Regions from separate parts of the Homo sapiens genome. Here region 2 is linked to region 1. The links are contacts of gene promoters, found by promoter capture Hi-C in human tissues and cell types (Jung and others, 2019). All regions are on one chromosome and are shown on one strand. The core of a region is centred on a gene start or on the middle of the fragment in contact, and the rest is flanking DNA. Distances in the headings are between cores, read along the strand shown.

Region 1 (4,520 bases), core at 556-3,055:
AGTGCACGAACCTGGCTCCTGACCCAGGATAGAGGGGTCTAAATGGGGGCTGAGAAGGCGAGGCACTGGGGGATGCCCTAGTTCACAGCACAGGCCTGGCCAGGGTGGGGGAACAAGGACAGGCAGGAAGATCAAAGAGGCAGGGGTGAGGAGGACGACAGCAGCAGCCTCACTAATAACCCCATTCCTGATGCCAATCAGGCCTGGCCGTCCCCTGCCTGGGGCACAGGAAGGCTTGCCAGGGAGGCTCTGGAAGTACCGGTGGGATCCCAGCATCCTGGCTTCCCATCTCTGCAGCAGGAGCCTAACTCTCCCTCAAACCCTGCCAGGGATCATCTCGTCCATTCCCCTGGAGTCGGAGGCCAGGGCTTCAGAAGGGAAGCTGTGCTCGTGTGTGGCCAGAGCCTTTCTGGGTGCTGACCACCCCTACCTGCCCTCCCAATTCTCTTTCTCCTGAGCTCCCGCTCCCCATCACTGAGCCCAGCAGCCTCCTCTCCTCCTTCCTCCTTGGTTCCAAAGCCCAGCCCTCAAGGCCACGCCAAAGAGGCCCACACGCTGGCCCCTTCCCCTGCTTCAGGCCCAGCTGCAGATGTGGTGCAGGAGGGTAGGGGGCAACTAGGGACCTGAGCCAGCAAGGAGGGCCGGACTGGTCCCCAGGACCCAAGTCAGAGAGCCCCTGTCTCCCCAAGCCCTGAGCTCTATGTCACCATATGGACCTCCCTGGGCAAGTCCCAAGCCCCTCTCTGGCCTCAGTTTCTTCTTCTATAAGTGAAGGAGGTGACTCAGATGTTCCCCAAGGTTGGAGTTCTTAGTGTGGGGATCATAAAACTTTTTGAGAATCTGATTTAAGGCAGTGGAGCATCTTCCAAGGTAAAGATGCAGCGAGGACTCCTCCCTCCAACCTGCACCACTTCGTGTGCATTTCAGGGGATTGTGGAGTCCCTGACACCCATGCCCTGTTCTATGCTCATCCATACTATTCCTGGGTACCAAGCAGTTGCCAAGGTAAATATGGGATGTCCCCCTTCTAGGAGTTTGCAATCTAATAGTGCCAGAGGTGCTGGTCCTCATTCTGCCCCTAAGTCGCTGTGTGGCCTTGGGCTGGTCCCTTCCCTCTCTGGACCTCAGTTTCCTCCTCTGTGAGATGAGTGATGGAGAGATGAGGCCCTTACCGTGTGGGCCTGGCTGAAAAGGAAGCGCAGCAGGTCCTTGATGTTCTTGGCCTTGTCCCTCTGGAAGTGGACCACAGCCTGGGTGGGGCTGAAGCCTGTGGCCTGTGGCACCTCGGGCCAGCCCAGGTCCAGGTCTGGGGGGTCTATGTCAGAGGCCATGGGGAAGTAAGTCCCTGAGGTGACTTCAGAGAGCAGGCTGAGGCGGTCTGGCCCGGAGGCCTCCTGCCCCTGAGCCTCGCTGAGCTCAGGGCCCCCGCGCACATGGCTGGTCATGTAGTCCACATCCAGGGCGCTCAGGAAGGGCAGCTCCCGCTCCTCGGAGATGACCCGCAGGTAGGCAGCCTCACCCCGCTCCAGGAGGGCGTCGGCCGCCAGCCGAGCCGCCTCGCTGTGCCGCAGCACCAGCGGTGAGCTCTCCCGCCACCACGGCAGCTTCAGCTCTTCCACCCGGCCCCGCAGGGGTCCCGCCATGCCCTGGGCTCCCAGGACCCCAGGCCCCGGGCCTCCGAACATGCCTGCCACGCGGCTGCCTCACCCGCCGGCAGGGCCCATGGCCCGCACGCTGGGCTGGCTGCAGCAGGAAGAGGAGACCAGCAGAACCGCCTTCTGCCCGCCCGCTCGCTGTGTGTGTGGCAGGGCCCCCAAACTGTTGCCACCCTAAATCAGAGCCACGCTCCACCCTATTGCCCCTGGCCTCTGGAACCTGTCAGGTCAGCCCCACCTGTCTGCCTGTGTTGGGACTCGCCTGCCCAGGGAAGCGGCAGTGCCAGGCCCTCGGTGCACACTCCTGCCTCCCTCTCTTCCTCCCAGCAACGCCGCCCCATCCCCACCAGGCTCCCAGCAAGTCTCCAAATGCTGACTTCCCGGGACCCACAGAGGTTGAATTACAGCCAAGAGGGGCCCAGGCGACTCAGGAACACACACTCACACGCACACGCACACACACTGCAGGTGGGTGAGCGACTCAAGACACCCAGGAAAAGACATGAACACCCATGCAGATGGACACACTGACAACTGACCGATACACAGACATGGAGTGTGGGCTGACACAGACCGACCACACATTGTAATCACATCCACTTGCATAAACTCTTCACCCAAACGCCGATGTAGAGACCGGCCATGACCCCCACAACACATACCACAGTGGATAGCACGTGCCCTGGCTCAAGTCTGCAAGGCCCTGAGAGCTGAACGACTGTCACATGGAATATCCAAGGACATCAACGCTGGTCTGTCCCCCAGCCAGCCCTCTTTTTGCTCCCATAATCGTCCTGCCACTCTCCATCATCTTAACTGTGGTGCTCACAGCCCCCTGGCTCTCTCCCACCCCGGCTCGGAGCTGTCCTTCAAGAACCTAGAGCAGTGGCTCTCACCCTGACCCCAGGGGTGGTGAGAGGTGATGAAATGCAGATCCCCGGGCCCCACCCTCCTGGAAATTCTCATCCAGAAGGTGTCCGTAGGCTTCTGGAGCTTGTCTTTTTTCTTTTTCTTTTTGAGATAGGGTCTTGCTCTGTCACCCAGTCTGGAGGGCAGTGGCGCAATCACAGCTCACTACAGCTGTGCCTCAGTTTCTCTGGACTCGAGCGATCTTCCCACCTCAGCCTCCTGAGTAGCTGGGATTACAGGTGCATGTTACCATGCTCGGCTACTTTTAAAATTTTTTTAGAGATGGGATCTCACTATGTTGCCCAGGCTGATCTTGAACTCCTGGCCTCAAGCAATCCTCCTGTCTCAGCCTCCCAAAGTGCTGGGATTACAGGTGTGAGCCGCCACACCTGGCCATTTTTCTTTTTTAATTGAGACATGATCTTGCTCTGTCACCCAGGCTAGAGAGAGCAGTGATGTGATCATAGCTTACTGTAACCTCAAATTCCTGAGTTTTTAAACAAGTGCCCAGTGCACTGTGGGCAGTGGGCTAAGGCCCACCCCTGAGACATGCTGTTCCAGATGGCTGTGCTTGCAACACCCTTAACTCCAGGGATGTTCTTGGCCTGGTGGTGGCCAGACCCCAGCCTTCTTCCCCTCCTCCAGGGCTGAGTATGAAAATGGTTGGAAGGTTGTTTCAGAGAATGGGCGGACACACTGCAAGGTCAGGAGGCAAACAGGGCAGGTAGATTTCTGACCTCTGCCCCAACAAAGATTAAAGTCCTGGAGCATGTACCGTGTGTCCTTCGGAGGATGGTGAGCAGCTTTGCTCTGGGGAAGGGGGTGAGCAGGTGACAGCTGCAGCTGGGGAGCCAGGCTAGGCAGAAGCGGTCACCACCTTTCCACGGAGGCATGAGGTCCAGCGAGGATGGCGGGAAGCGCAGAAGACCTAAAGCCGTGCCTCGCAGCCTGTTTAGCACTAAGCGCACTTGGTTTATCTGGTCTGCGATCATGTCCGGAACACAGGGTCTTCTGTGTCCAAAGAACTTGACACACATATAGTGGGAGGGAGCTGGGTGGGATTTAGAGGTTCCGGAGTTGAGCTGAGCCCTAGGACCAAAGGTGAATGGGGCTAGGGCTGTGTCTTCAAGGACCCTATAAGTGAAGGGCCTGGGGGAGCATGGGGGAGCCACAGGTCAGGAGTTATGGCCTACTCCATCCCATCCCAGGTGCAGGAGCACCGGGCACTCCAAGGAGGCCCTTCCATGGGGGTGAGGAGGCTGCAAGAGGGGCAGAAGGTTGAGTAAACAAAGCCAGACCGTGGGAGGGTGATGAGCTGTGGGGGCAGCCGAGGTGGCAGGGCCATCATTAGGGCCTTATCTCCAGATTTGTTTGAAGGGGAGGACCAACCAGGGTCTTATCTGGGTGGTAGAAGTGCTCCCGGGAGGGAGGGAGGCATGTTTGCGTGTCACTGAGTTAGTTTTGTTTATCTTGCAGTGTGTATACATCTACTTCAGGTACATATCTTTGGCTCTGTATCTTTTAATTGTGGTAAAATACGCATAAAATTTGCCTTTAAAAAATAATTCGTGGCCAGACGCTGTGGCTCATGCCTATAATCCCAGCCCTTTGGGAGGCCGAGGTGGGCGGATCACCTGAGGTTGGGAGTTCAAGACCAGACTGACCAACATGGTGAAACCCCATCCATCTCTAATAAAAATACAAAAAGTAGGTGGCTGTGGTGGCAGGCGCCCATAATCCCAGCTACTTGGGAGGCTGAGGCAGGAGAATCGCTTGAACCTGGGAGGCAGAGGTTGAGGTGAGCTGAGATTACGCCACTGCACTCCAGCCTGGGTGACAGAGCGAGACTTCATCTCAAAAAAAAAAAAAAAAGAATTAGAGATGGAGTCTTGCTCTGTTGCCCAGGTTACTCTCAAACTCCTGGCCTCAAGCGATGCTCTTGCCTCCGCCTCCCAA
Region 2 (3,932 bases), core at 1,101-3,600, 33 kb before region 1:
CCAGGAGGTGGTTTGGCCAAGGCTCAGCCTAGGCAAAGTCATGAACCTGTTAAATTGTTCTTTGTCCTCTTCTTTCTTCAGATTTTTGTCCTCTTTCCTATTGAACTCCGTTTCCTTTGCCCTGGTATCTCTCCCGTATGTCCTGCATGTATTCCTGGCTGAGTACCTGTTCTTTATCTCATTCTTATTTTTGGATCGGTGTCAACGAATGGCTGTCTGTGCTAACAGATAAGATGTGAGGAGAAGAGAACTAATATTTTTGAGGCCCTGTTATGTGCCAGGCACTGTTAGCTGATAGGGTTTTAGTTATATTCCTGATAGAGGCAAATGAATGTCCAAAGAGTTGTCCAGAGGCAACGGGAAGACACTCCCACTCCTCTGCCCTCCCCTTCTGCCCAGCACTGGGGGTGTGCACTTCCCACACCTGCTCCTTGCTTTTGCAGAACTTGTTGGACCCAGCCCCCAAATCCCAAGAGCCGGTGGTATGTGTGGGAAGGACCGGGGACCTGTGGATGGGCACCATCCCAGCACCTCTCCCATCTGTCCAACCCTAACCTTCATGAAAGACTGCCAATTCTGATAGAAATTCCAAGATTGCTAATGTTTTCTTTGGATAAGAATCAGGACTTTGCTCTGCTCTGGAAAACCAAGCAGGAACTGTCCAGATGCAGCTCAGGACCACAGCAATCGACTCCTGAACTGGAATGCAGTGAAGGCAGGTTTTGGGTGAGAGGCAAGGAACCAAAATTTATTGAGCATCCATATATTATCTCGTTTAATTTCCACATAGACTCAGCAAAGGGGTGGAGTTTCCTGGGAACTTTTTGAACTTATTAGCTTACTTCTTTTTTCTAAACTCTCATTATGGAAAATTTCAAACTCACAAAAGTAGGAAGAATGCTTCTATGATCTCCCAGATACCCACCACCTGCCTCAGCAATTATCAACGTTGTGGCATTCCTATTTATCTACCTTTTTTTGGCTGATGTATTTTAAAGAAAATCTCAGGCATTCTAACATTTCACCTTTAAATACTTTAGTATATACCTCTAACAGATAAAGGCTAATTTTTAACATAAGCACACAATCATTATCAAGCCCAACAAAATTAACAATAATTTTTTAAAATCTAATACCCAGTTCGAGTTCACTTTCCCAAAGTACCTTGGAAATGTCTTTTACAGTTGTTTGCTTGAATCAGGATCCAAACAAGATCCACACACACATGGCTGACATGTCTCTTAAAGCCCTTTTTATTTAAAACACCCCCGTCCTACACACACGTTTCCCTCCATATATTTGTTGAAGAAACTGGGTCAGGTGTCCCGAGTATAATCATTTGGCGTGACTAGAATCAAGTTTACTTTTAATACGTCTCTCTTGCCCATAATTCCTGAATGTTGTTCATTAGATTTACAGGCTGACTAGATTCAAGTTCAATTTTTTTGGCAAGAATACTTCCTAGGTGGTGCTGGTACTTCCTATTCACCATATTAGCAAATACATATGATGCAGACTGTCCCACTTTTAGTGATGTTGAGGTCGAGCATTTGCTTCAGGTTGTGTCAGCCTGACCCAACCATTATACAATTCACCTGGAGAACTTAAAAAAAAAAAACAACAAAAAAGATTGCCTACGTCCCAAACCAAACCTCCTGAATCAGAATATCTTCCCCACCTCCTCCATGTGTTTAAAAGGCTCCCCGGGCCAGGTGCGATGGGAGCACTGGAGTAATCCCAGCACTTTGGGAGGCCGAGGGGGGGCAGATCACCTGAGGTCAGGAGTTCGAGACCAGCCTGGCCAACATGGCAAAACCCCGTCTCTACTAAAAATACAAAAATTAGCCGGGTGTGGTGGCACATGCCTGTAATCCCAGCTACTCGGGAGGCTGAGGCAGGAGAATGGCTTGAACCCGGGAGGCGGAGGTTCAAGTGAGCCGAGATTGCACCACTACACTCCAACCTGGGTGACAGAGTGAGATCCTGTCTCAAAAATAAAAAAGAAAGAAAATACTTTTTAAAAAAATAGGAAATTCACCCCTTTGGAAAGTGGCAGAGCCAGGTGTGACCCCAGGACTCCGCATTTTTAAGTCACCACAGGTGGTTCTGCTGCAGGTGGTCCGAGTATTTCCCTTGGTAAAATACGGTGCTTTTGGCGCTGTTCCATTCCGGGGGCTGTCACCTGGTTCTTCAACACAAAGCTTGTCCTCAAGGAACCCACAGTCCTGGGGCAGCGAGCATGTGCACTAGTGGCAATCACGTGGGGAGGAAGCGGTCAGTGCCATAAAGGCAGTTCAGGGAAACTGCTGGGAGGGCACAGCAGAAGGAGCACTCACTGCCAGCTGGGAAGTCATGGAAGGCTTCCTGGAAGACAGGCATGGAGCTGAACTTTGAAGGAATCAGGTTATTCCAGGGGAAGGGGCAGCACTGGCAGAAGAACAGAGGCAAAGGGAAATGCTATCACCTTTCGTGGGGCTGGGGGAGTTAATGAGATGGGAACGACCAAATATGGAGATCCTAAAAGAAAGAAATGAGGCAGAGACAAGGTCCACTTGAGTAGCCGAGTAGACTGCTGGGGACTTGCTCGGAGGCCCAGGGACTTACAGGAACACACCCTATCAGGGGTGCTGGTGCTCACACACAGCTCAACAGGACCCTGCTAATGAAGGGTAATACTTCTGTACCAGGAGCTGGTATCAGCGCATTACACACCCTGCCCCATGAATCTTCACCCACATCCCTATGACGAAGGTGCCATTGTTCCTTCTATCTTCCAGAGGAAGAATTTAAAATGTCACACTGCTAGGACATGGCAGAGCTGGGATTCAAAACCAGGCAGTCTGGCTCCCAGAGACTGCATTCCTGACCACTCTGCTTCCCTGCCGCTCACCCTCTTGAAGAGTGAAGACCCTAGCAGCCTCCTGCCCATGGAGCATGGGGTCCTCATAGCAGGCCTCTCCTCCTCATACCTCTGCCTTCACCTCACAAGCTCAGGGAGTCCTCCTGCCCCTGCCCTGCTCCCTCTGTCTCCCCCTCAGGGCTCTCTTGGGTTTCTGTGCAGCAGGATACTGGCTCCCTCGCTCTTCCCTTCCTTTTGGTTCCTGGACCCAAACCACAGGCCTCTTTCCTTTAAGGGGTCACTCCTGTTCTCTGCAGACCCAGAACAGGGGTTAAAAGAGCAAGAGACAAGGCTGCGGACAAAGGTTTTGAGTCTCCCACAGTGCTCAGAGCCGTGTTCCCTGGTTCCCAGCTGAGCTCCCTGTGGACAGCCCCTGGGGAAGAGCCTGCTCAGGAGACAGAGGCCCTGAACAGCTTGTCCCAGGTCATAGAATAGCCCAGGAGCACAGCCAGGACTGGACCCCAGGAAGCAGAGCTGCCTTCCGCTGGCTCTACCAGTTTGTTTGGGATGGAGCTCAGCGATGAGCTCACCCTTCCCTGCTGCCAGAGGGGCCAGGACCTGAGTAAGGAGCTGGGGGCGGCCTGGCCCTCTCATGCCAGCAGAAGGCCAGCCCCAGGCTTTTGGCCAACCTTGCACTGATCTTGCCCATCCCCCTTCCTTTCCGTTGCTCAAAGGTGGCTTCACAGAAGACACTGGCGGTGTCAGTAGTGTGGGAGGCATGTACTGCCCGTGGCCTGGGTCTGCCCCATGGGGTTCTTCTCTCTTCCAGAGACCTAAGCCAGGAAGGCCAAACAATCCCCACCCCCATGTGTCCCTAGGCCAGTGACGCTGGGGCCAGAGTGGGCAGTAGGACTCTAGACCACCTCCTAGGTTCCTGGCAGCCTCCCTGGACTTACAGGTGGCAGGAATGGGCCGAGCCATGCCTTAGGGCCAGAAGATAAGAGGCAGGGCTCAAGGGGCTACAAATGCCAGAGGTCAAGGCAAGCAAGGGTCTGACACTGGGCAGACAGGAGTCAGGACTGGTGATCCACAG

The links. Contacts are between HindIII fragments. The study calls those that stand out against the background at their distance.
Region 2: a contact is called between a fragment that was not itself captured here and the fragment with the promoter of FAM83C in region 1, in 2 of the 25 tissues and cell types used here (adrenal gland and spleen).

The regions. Positions count from the first base shown.
Region 1 is chr20:35,290,620-35,295,139 of GRCh38, forward strand. It overlaps FAM83C (family with sequence similarity 83 member C), which reads right to left and starts at 1,806. Exons shown (of 4, transcript NM_178468.6): 1 at 1,173-1,806. The coding sequence starts at 1,685. The HindIII fragment of the contact is 12,597 bases long and covers 208-4,520 here.
Region 2 is chr20:35,257,191-35,261,122 of GRCh38, forward strand. All of the region lies in intron 2 of MMP24-AS1-EDEM2 (MMP24-AS1-EDEM2 readthrough), which reads right to left. The region is part of intron 4 of MMP24 (matrix metallopeptidase 24); the gene reads left to right. Among named protein-coding and RNA genes, the nearest start is that of MMP24-AS1-EDEM2, 19 kb to the right of the region's middle. The HindIII fragment of the contact is 5,720 bases long and covers 1-3,932 here.